3 separate regions of the Homo sapiens genome follow, and all the other regions are linked to region 2. The links are contacts of gene promoters, found by promoter capture Hi-C in blood cells and fetal thymus (Javierre and others, 2016). All regions are on one chromosome and are shown on one strand. Each heading gives the region's core, a stretch centred on a gene start or on the middle of the fragment in contact. The rest is flanking DNA. Distances are from core to core; before and after follow the strand shown.

The links. The method cuts DNA at HindIII sites, captures the fragments that hold promoters and counts their contacts. A CHiCAGO score of 5 or more calls a contact.
Region 1: a contact is called between a fragment that was not itself captured here and the fragment with the promoter of LINC00852 in region 2, in 1 of 17 cell types (activated CD4 T cells). The highest score is 7.4, in activated CD4 T cells.
Region 3: a fragment that was not itself captured here is called in contact with the fragment with the promoter of LINC00852 in region 2 in 6 of 17 cell types (endothelial precursors, activated CD4 T cells, non-activated CD4 T cells and 3 more); the score reaches 9.7 in endothelial precursors.

The regions. Positions count from the first base shown.
Region 1 is chr3:9,989,962-9,993,345 of GRCh38, forward strand. The region is part of intron 2 of EMC3-AS1 (EMC3 antisense RNA 1); the gene reads left to right. It also overlaps a transcript of EMC3 not described here and the pseudogene FANCD2P1. Among named protein-coding and RNA genes, the nearest start is that of EMC3-AS1, 4.8 kb to the left of the region's middle. The HindIII fragment of the contact is 3,447 bases long and covers 1-3,090 here.
Region 2 is chr3:10,282,792-10,285,835 of GRCh38, forward strand. It overlaps LINC00852 (long intergenic non-protein coding RNA 852), which reads left to right and starts at 1,628. Exons shown (of 1, transcript NR_026829.1): 1 at 1,628-2,955. GHRL (ghrelin and obestatin prepropeptide) reads right to left here. Exons shown (of 6, transcript NM_016362.5): 6 at 2,875-3,044. GHRLOS (ghrelin opposite strand/antisense RNA) reads left to right here. Exons shown (of 6, transcript NR_073568.1): 2 at 730-812; 3 at 2,957-3,044. The HindIII fragment of the contact is 4,911 bases long and covers 1-3,044 here.
Region 3 is chr3:9,968,557-9,971,561 of GRCh38, forward strand. It overlaps EMC3 (ER membrane protein complex subunit 3), which reads right to left. Exons shown (of 8, transcript NM_001394674.1): 6 at 2,026-2,105; 7 at 1,163-1,245. Among named protein-coding and RNA genes, the nearest start is that of EMC3, 17 kb to the right of the region's middle. The HindIII fragment of the contact is 571 bases long and covers 1,169-1,739 here.

The sequences.
Region 1 (3,384 bases), core at 117-2,616, 290 kb before region 2:
TTTTTTTTTTTTTTTTTCCTGGAAGCATAGACTCAGATTGCCCTGAATACACTCCCAGTGTTTTCTCTTTTTTTTTTGAGACAGAGTCTTGCTCTGTCACCCAGGCTGGAGTGCAGGCAGTGGCGCAATCTCAGCTCACTGCAAGCTCCACCTCCTGGGTTCATGCCATTCTTCTACCTCAGCCTCCCGAGTAGCTGGGACTACAGGCGCCTGCCACCACGCCCGGCTAATTTTTTGTATTTTTAGTAGAGATGGGGTTTCACGTTGTTAGCCAGGATGGTCTGGATCTCCTGACCTTATGATCCACCTCAGCCTCCCAAAGTCCTGGGATTACAGGTGTGAGCCACCGTGCCGGGCCTTTCTCTTTTTTTTTTTTTTTTTTTTTTTTTAAGAGACTAAGTCTTGCTCTGTCACCGAAGGTGGAGTGCGGTGACAGCATCATAGTTCATTGCAGTCTCAAACACCCGGGTTCAAGCGATCCCCCCACCTCAGTCTTTGGAGTAGCTGGGACTACAGGCAAGCACCACCAGGCCTGGCTAATTCTGTTAGTTAGTTAGTTAGTTATTTTGAGAGAGTTTCGCTCTTTTGCCTAGGCTATAGTGAAGTGCCACAATCTCGGTTCACTGCAACCTCTGGCCCCTGGGTTGAAGCAAATCTCCTGCCTCAGCCTCCCTAGTAGCTGGGATTATAGGTGCCTGCCACCATGCCTGGCTAATTTTTGTATTTTTAGCAGAGATGGGATTTCACCATATTGGCCAGGCTAGTCTCAAACTCCTGACTCAGGTGATCCACCCACCTGCCTCAGCCTCCCAAAGTGCTAGGATTACAGGTGTGAGCCACCACGCCTGGCCAATTCTTTTATTTATTTATTTATTTATTTATTTTTTGAGACGGAGTCTCGCTGTCGCCCAGGCTGTAGTGCAGTGGCACGATCTCGGCTCACTGCAAGCTCCGCCTCCCGGGTTCACGCCATTCTCCTGCCTCGGCCTCCTGAGTAGTTGGGACTATAGGCGCCCACCACCTCGCCTGGCTAATTTTTTGTATTTTTAGTAGAGACGGGGTTTCACCATGTTAGCCAGGATGGTCTCGATCTCCTGACCTCGTGATCTGCCCGCCTTGGCCTCCCAAAGTGCTGGGATTACAGGTGTGAGCCACCGCGCCCGGCCATTCTTTTATTTTTTATAGAGATGAGGTCTTGCTGTGTTTCCCAGGCTGGTCTCAAATTTTTAGCTTCAAGTGATCCTCCTGCTTGGGCCTCCCAAAGTGCTGGGATTATAGGCATGAGCCACTGCACCCAGCCCTCATATTTTTCTTTTTTAAACTTAGGTAAACAAGCTAATTGTGGAGAAAAATCCACAAGGAATCTACAGATGTAAAAAATACAGTTTTTCTCTGCTCTCTTTCCCATTCCTCAGGGGTAATCATCCTTCCAAATTTTTTCTCTTCATATACAAGCTGTAATTGTGTGCAAGTACAGGTATACTCTTATGCCTACACATATATATGTTTATATATTGTTTTTACAAAAGCAGAATCTTAACTATGATTATGGGTGGTGGTGGTGGTGTTTAAAGAGACAGGGTCTCACTCTGTCGCCAGGCTGGAGTGCAGTGGCACAATCGTAGCTCACTGTTGCCTCCACCTCCTGGGCTCAATGATCCTCCCTCCTCAGCCTCCCAAAGCAGTGGGATTATAGGCATGAGCCTTCATGCCCAGCCTGATTATCCTTTTGCAGGCTGCTGTTTTTTCCACTTCATATCAGGAATGTCTTTCCTCTGTCAAAAAATAGAGTATGGCTCAGCAGTCCCTAACCTTTTTGGCACCAGGGACTGGTTTCATGGAAGACAGTTTTTCCACAGACCGTTTCGGGGCATGATTTCAGGATGAAACTGTTCAACTTTAGATCATCAGGCACTACTTAGATTCTCATAAGGAATGTGCAGCCTAGATCCTGCGCATGTGCAGTTCACAATGGGGTTTGCGCTCCCGTGAGAATCTAATGCAGCCGCTAATCTGACAGGAGGCGGATCTCAGTGGTAATGACCACTTGACCACCCCTCACCTCCTGCTGTGCAGCTTGGTTCCTAGCAGACCACAGACTCCGTGATCCAGGAGTTGGGGACCCCTGATCTACCTTTTTCTTTTTTTTTTAAATTTTGTAATTAAAAAGTCTTTTTTAGACAGAGTCTCGCTGTGTCACCCAGGCTGGAGTGCAGTGGCACAATCTCGGCTCATTGCAACCTGCACCTCCCGGGTTCGAGTCGTTGACCTGCCTCAGCCTCCTGAGTAGCTGGGATTGCAGGCAGTTGCCACCACGACTGGCCAATTTTTTTTTGTATTTTTTAGTAGAAATGGGGTTTCACCGTGTTGGCCAGGCTGGTCTCGAACTCCTAACCTCAGGTGATATGTGTACCTCAGCCTCCCAAAGTACTGGGATTACAGGTGTGAGCCCCCACGCCCAGCCTGGCTTATCCTTTTTGATGACTATAATATTTCAAAAATTAAAATTACTCCATCATAATTTACTGAACCCTTTCCAGATTGATGGGCATTTATAGTCTTTCCAACTTTTCACAAAGTAATTTTTCTAGTAATAGTGAAAATACATACTGGAGTTGGCAAGTGATTGAATCTTTTAATAAATGTGAAGATGTTCAAAGTTACTTCTGTAGTAGTATCACTTTAATGTATATTGGAATGTATTCCTAAGAGATACCAGTGGTTAATAGTTGTGGCACTTTATTTCTTTAAAAAATATTTCTGGGTTTTGTGAAAAGTGTAGATACTACCAGGGGAGTGTGTGGAACAAATGAGCATCATCCATTGTGTGTTTTAATTAGAGGAAAAGCTGCTGTTTCATTGTAGCAAATGTACTGATTGGTTAACTGTTTTTCTATTATTGCATATTTATTGACCTGGTGATGCTTTTCATCATCTATAGCACCAATACTCAGACAAAGAAGTACATTGAAAGGGTGCTAAGAAATAAGATTCGATCAGGCTGCATTCAAGAACAGCTGCTCCAGAGTACATTCTCTGTTCATTACTTAGTAAGTGTCAGAGACTATTGATTTTTAATCTAAAACAGAAAGCTTTACAGCTCTCATGTAAAATTTCATCTTATTTCAGTCCATTGTTCAAACCCATTGAAATTTTTGAATTTTATTTTTGCATTAACATTTTAATTGTCTATCTCAATGCAGTTTGCAATTATGACAAACTAGCCTTTCGTATCCTATTCTAAGTAGCTTATAAAAACCTTGAGGGGAATAGGACCAGGCTGTAGAAACTAGTAGAAACGTAAATATGGACCTATTTGAACTATCACTCTTTGGCCATTCAAAACTGGATTTTAGGTGATAATTCCTCTGGAAATGTAAATTA
Region 2 (3,044 bases), core at 378-2,877:
TTGAGACTGAGTGTCACTCTGTCGCCCAGGCTGGAATGCAGTGGCCTGATCTCAGCTCACTGCAACCTCCACCTCCCAGGTTCAAGTGATTCTCGTGCCTCAGCCTTCTGAGTAGCTGGGACTACAGGCGCCCAATACCATGACTGGCTAATTTTTTTTTTTTTAAATTTTAAGTAGAGATGAGATTTTGCCATGTTGGCCTGTTTGGCCTTATACTCCTCATCTCAGGTGATCCACCTGCCTCGGCCCCCCAAATGCCAGTGACATTTGTAGGTGGATTCAGATTAAGGTGGGTAGCTTAGTTGAGGCGTCTCAACCCTTTTCTGTGCACTCTCTCAAGATGATTTCTGAACACACAACTATAAGTGCATGAGAACTTAAATACGTGTGCTCTTATGCTAATTATACACAAAGTAAAAGTTTTTTCACAAGGAGAATTTTTTTCTCCAGCAAATAGCTCGCTCACCCTAGGGGTACATACACCCCACTTTAGAGACCCTCAAGTTACAGTGGTATCATTAAACGATCCATAAAGGAGTGGGTTTAAGAAAGCTGATACAGGAACATGTTTGAAATAATACATTTTCTCAAGGGTGTCCTCCAACCATTTTCTTTGATAAATTATATTTCTGCCCATTGTTGACTTGAAATTGTCCTCACCCCTCTACCAAGTTCACCCAGTGTATTCTGAAGGAAAATGAATGAATATGGAAACCTCTCTCATCCTAGGCAGTAGAGCGAGGGAAGCTGCACTGGCTGAGAGGCTGTGGAACCGGATGAAAAAGCAGCCCCTGAGTCCTGTGGCGTTGGCTGTGAGTCGGCCACGTGCTTGCTGTGTGCTTTAGGAAAGTTACTTAATTTCTCTGAGCTTTAGTTTTCTCCCTCATAAGTAGGCTTGCTGTGAAAATGAAGTGAAATCACATTAATCTGCATGAGCATTTAACACGGTGCCTGGTGTACATCAGGGGTGTGACAGTGAGTGCTGGCTGCTGTAGTAATTGAATGCTTAGCTACGTGCCGGGCCCTTTGCCAGCTACAGCTCATGTGAGACCTCATGTTCAGTCTTGGCAGTAACCCAGCAAGGTAGGCATTTTACATGTGAGGAGCCTGAGAAATTCAGTCTTGGCCTGGATCACAGAGCTGGTATCCAAATTCAGGTCCGAGGCCAAAGCCCAGATCTTTGCACTACACCTTGTTGCCTGGCACAGGTGAGAGTGCCCAGCCCATAGTGGGTGCGCAATATCTGTTTCTATTTGAATGACCCAGGCAGGCGGTTAATAATGCTTGTGATTTCTTTGAGAGAGAAGTAAGTTCTTGTCTTTGGTGGGGGAAGCATCAGGTGACCAGCATTTGTCCAGAGCCTGGTACCCATCCTCTCCCAAGCCCAATCAGTGGTGCTTTCTCAAAAAGAAACCATCTCCTGACCACTTTGGCCATATTGGGCCTTTGCTCCTCTTCTGTAGCTATTGATAAGAGGGCTGTGGGCAGTTAGTGATAATCAAGGTCGTATCCCAACTAAGTGACAGAGCTGAGACAGTTAAGTTCCAGGACAAGTGTGTTGATCTCTGTACCCACTTGTGCCAGGTGCCTGGGGAGGTAGGGGCATGGCTGTCTGAGGGTGGAGGGGTGAGTAGGGGGCCTGCAGTGTGCTGTGACGCCTGGGAAGGGGATTCTAAGCCATTTCCCATCAGCCGTTTACTAAGTAGCCTGGGGATCTTGTTAAAATGCAGATCCTGATAGATTAGGGCTGGGGTGCTGCCCAAGATTCTACATTTCTAAGAGTCCCTGGATGACGGTGGCATTCACAGACCACAGCTTCTATGTGAGGGAGAGCAGTTGGGTTTCTGTCTGCCTGCCGCACCTGATCAGTAGTTAGTGCCTGCATGTGTGGCGGCCAGAATTTTACTTGGGGAGACGCTCGGCTCCTAGCACCCTCTGTGGTAGGGGTTTTCCAGAGTGTGGGCATTACCCCAACTGTCTCTGCAGACGGCTTCCTGCATGTTTCCCACAAGCGCTCAGATGGCTGAATTGGCAAGTCTGTGGTGCTGCTCTTTGGGGCCACCTCGTTCTTTGCCTTTCCCTCCCCTTAGCGATGTGTCCCATCCGTTGCCTACAGTCAAGTCAGTCCACATGTTTAGGCTAAGGTGGGCATGACCGAGTGGCCTTCCCCCGGGAAGACCAGTGTCGTAACTGGAATTAAGTTGTGGAACATAAGAGTCAAGGCTCGTGTCTGCTGTGAACTGGAGTTGAGGGAATGTTTGGGGATCCCACCTGGTATCAGTAAGGGAACCATGGCGACGGCCAGCCTTGCCCATGTGAGGCATTTGCTTTGTCAGGCCTTCTCAGTAGTGGAGAAGGGAGGAAGGAGAATGCAGCTCTTTCAGTGCTGTCTAGCAGTGCCCAAGAGCCGTGATTGGGCACCTCACTTAACGTCTAACTTCAGATTCACTCTTGGGCATTCCTGTCTTCCTCTCCAATCTTGAATGGATGTTGGCTTCGATAATGTCATCCTGAAGTTTCTTTGTCCACACAGCCCTGGCTGGTTGTTAATAAGCTGTTAATGCAGCCTTGCACTCAGGAAGCCCTGATGTTTAAAGGAACTGTGTCTTTGTTCTTCCTCTCTTCCCTCTTTCTCTTAGTCCCACTTTATCTCTTCTTTCTCTTCCTCTCCCTCCTCCTTTTCCCCTCTCCCTCCTACTCTCCCCCTTTCTCTCCTCCTTCTCTAAGAAACCCAGTCTTAATTCCACACAATGCATGCACATGCAGTAGCTTCTCTGCTTGAGTGAGCTGGTGTGATTAGGTTTTCTAAACATGCACATTGGCCTTGCTACTTGTCCTTTTATTCCCTTCCCACAGACCATAAACCAAGAATTATTTTTATTTGTATTATTTTGATTTTTTTAAAGTAAAATATTAACTTTTCCTCTTTGAAATAAATTCCCATTTGGAACATCAGCATACAGTTTGAACATTTATTCGCCTCCTGAGCTTGTACAACAGTCGTGGGAGTTGCTGCAGAAGCAAGCGAAAAGCCAGATGAGCGC
Region 3 (3,005 bases), core at 204-2,703, 310 kb before region 2:
TCTTAAAGGGAAAGCTTTCAGTCTTTCACCATTGAGTATGATGTTAGCTGTGGGTCTGTCATAGATGTCCTTTATCAGGCTGAGAAATTTCTCTCTTTTTTTTTTTGAGACGGAATCTTGGTCTGTCATCCAGGCTGGAGTGCAGTGGCACGATCTTGGCTCACTACAGCCTCCGCCTCCCAGGTTCCAGTGATTCTCCTGCCTCAGCCTCCTGGGTGGCTGGGATTATAGGCACATGCCACCGTGCCCAGCTCATTTTTGTATTTTTTTTTTTTTTTTGAGACAGAGTTTTGCTCTTGTTGCCCAGGCTGGAGTGCAATGGTGCAATCAATCTCAGCTCACTGCAAACTCCACCTCCTGAGTTCAAGCAATTCTGTCTCAGCCTCCCAAGTAACTGGGATTACAGGTGCCCACCACCATGCCCAGCAAATTTTTTTTTTGTATCTTTAGTAGAAAAGAGGTTTCACCATGTTGGCCAGGCTGGTCTTGAACTCCTGACCTCAGCTGACCCACCTGCCTTGGCCTCCCAAAGTGCTGGGATTACAGGCGTGAGCCACCGCACCTGGCCCATTTTTGTATTTTTAATAGAGACAGGGTTTCACCATGTTGTCCAGGCTGGTGTCGAACTCCTGAACTCAGGTGATCTGCCCACCTTGGCCTCCCAAAGTGCTGGGATTACACGTGTGAGCCCCTGTGCCTGGCCGGAACTTCCCTTCTCTTTTAGTTTCTATCATGAAACACAGTGAGATTTTGTCCCACAAAAATCATACTAAATTTTGCAAATTCTAGAACCTTTTTGTGAAAAGGCTCTTAGTATTGTTTTTTTAATGCAATTTATATCTGATGTCTATGGGGTTCAAAAAGGTTCAAATTATTCTAAATGTTTACCTGGCACCTCCGATTGGATTATTTTACAGCATCATTGATAGTGTGGATTAAATTCCAGTGAGCATTTAAAAACCAGTAAAAGCACCAAGAATTTCCATTTACTTAATAGATGATTCTGTCTCAGGAAAGAGAGACGTGTAAACTATGTTTTTACTAAGTTTAAATTAAAACGATGGAACCACACAACACTCCCTTCAAGGAAGCTATTTTTAAAATAGCTCTTGGTAACACCTTTCAGAGCATTGCTGCAGCTTTGAAAGGTGAAGGAGTATACCTTGAAAGCTTTGTTTGTGTCTGCGGGCATGGCCATGGCTGCTCCCGTCATCTGCTCCTGCATCATTCGTGATTGGTCAGCGGCTGTAGCATAAGACACACTTACATGAGTGCCAGGACTCAGCAAGCACCCCAGCACCCAAGGGGAAGAATGGGCTTCACACAGATTAGAGAACTGGACTACAGCCTCACTGGCTGGCCCTGTCACCCACTGGCTATGTGACTCTAGGAAAGTCACTTTGTGTCTCCTGAAAAATGGGGACAGTAACAGCAAAAGAGAGATCACTAAAGGAAGCTCTAAACTTTATTTCAAATTTCAACAATAACAGCCACCAGTTATTGAGCAACTACTGCATGCCAAGTACTTCACTAAGTGCTTTGCATATTTTTCCTCATCTGTTCCTAACAACCCCACAGGTTAACTAATAAAGTCCTTATTTACAGATAAGTAAATAGAGAATTCGAAGTTAAGTAACTTGTTAAGTAACTTTTCTGAGGTCCCAGCCAGTAAACAAGAGAGCAAGGATTAGTACTGGCAAGGGCTCTAGTCAATGAACTGACAAACCAAGCCTTCTTTAAGCTTTAGGTTCACAGGCTTACACTGCTGGTGCTGGATCCCTCACATGATGGTATCAGACTCTGGGGAATCAAAATACTGTCCCAGTCATTGCCAGAGAGAATTGAGATCTTCAGTTTGACCCCCGGAATTTTTAAGACTCTTTCAGAATACCTCAGAAACTTAAGGAAGGAAACATTTTATTTGACTATGGTAACAAACAGCACAACCTACAAGACTTTTCTGGCTCTAATATGGATGATTCATCTATGGAAGTATTTGCTTAGTAAACCTGACATGCTTCTTACCATTATCTTGGCCCAGAATCAGAGAGTAAATGCTCCGAAGCCCAAATACATTGAGGAAGTACCAGGATGCAGAACTCACCCTGGCAAAGCAAAATGAAAATGGTGTGGTTAGTTATTATATCAGAGAGTAATGCAGTTCCCACTTCCCTACCACCCAAAGTTGTTCAGTGTTTGTAAAGAAGTCACCTTGGATGGGCTATATTCATCCAAAGCACAACCACAGAAGAAATACAAGTTGTTAAAGCAGTCTCACCAATACAGAACTATATTTCAAAAAATCCAAAGGTGACTCCCATTCTGAATTCCATTCCCTAGAGGAAATCACAAGTGTTGGTGTGTTCCATACTTTTTTTTTTTTTGAGACGGAGTCTCACCCTGTTACCCAGGCTGGAGTGCAGTGGCGCAATCTTGGCTCACTGCAACCTCTGCCACCTGGGTTCAAGAGATTCTCCTGCCTCAACCTCCTGAGTAGCTGGGACTACAGGCACACACCACCATGCCTGGCTAATTTTTATATTTTTATTAGAGATGGGGTCTCACCATGTTGGCCAAGCTGGTCTCGAACTCCTGACCTCAAGTGATCCGCCCACCTCAGCCTCCCAAAGTGCTGGGATTACAGGCGTGAGCCACTGGGTGTGTTCCATACTTACAAGAAGGGATGAGACATGGATTTCAGGAAATACAGTACCGAGGACTATAGCTACTGGGAGAGCCATTCCAAGTTTTGAACTATATCACTGAGGCTTCCTTTAGCTTAGGTTTCCTACTCAACCTCCATAAAATAAATATGCTTGCATATAATAAAAACTAAAAACAAAAATGCATATGGGAAGTGATAGATAAATGGAAAGATCCACACTCATTCCAACAAGTGGGTCACATAAGGGCAAGAGTCTATTCTGGTTACTCCATAGGCTGCAGGTAAGTAAATGGCCTGTCTGAATACAATGTTGCTGATCTCACCACAGTGGTAATTGTAC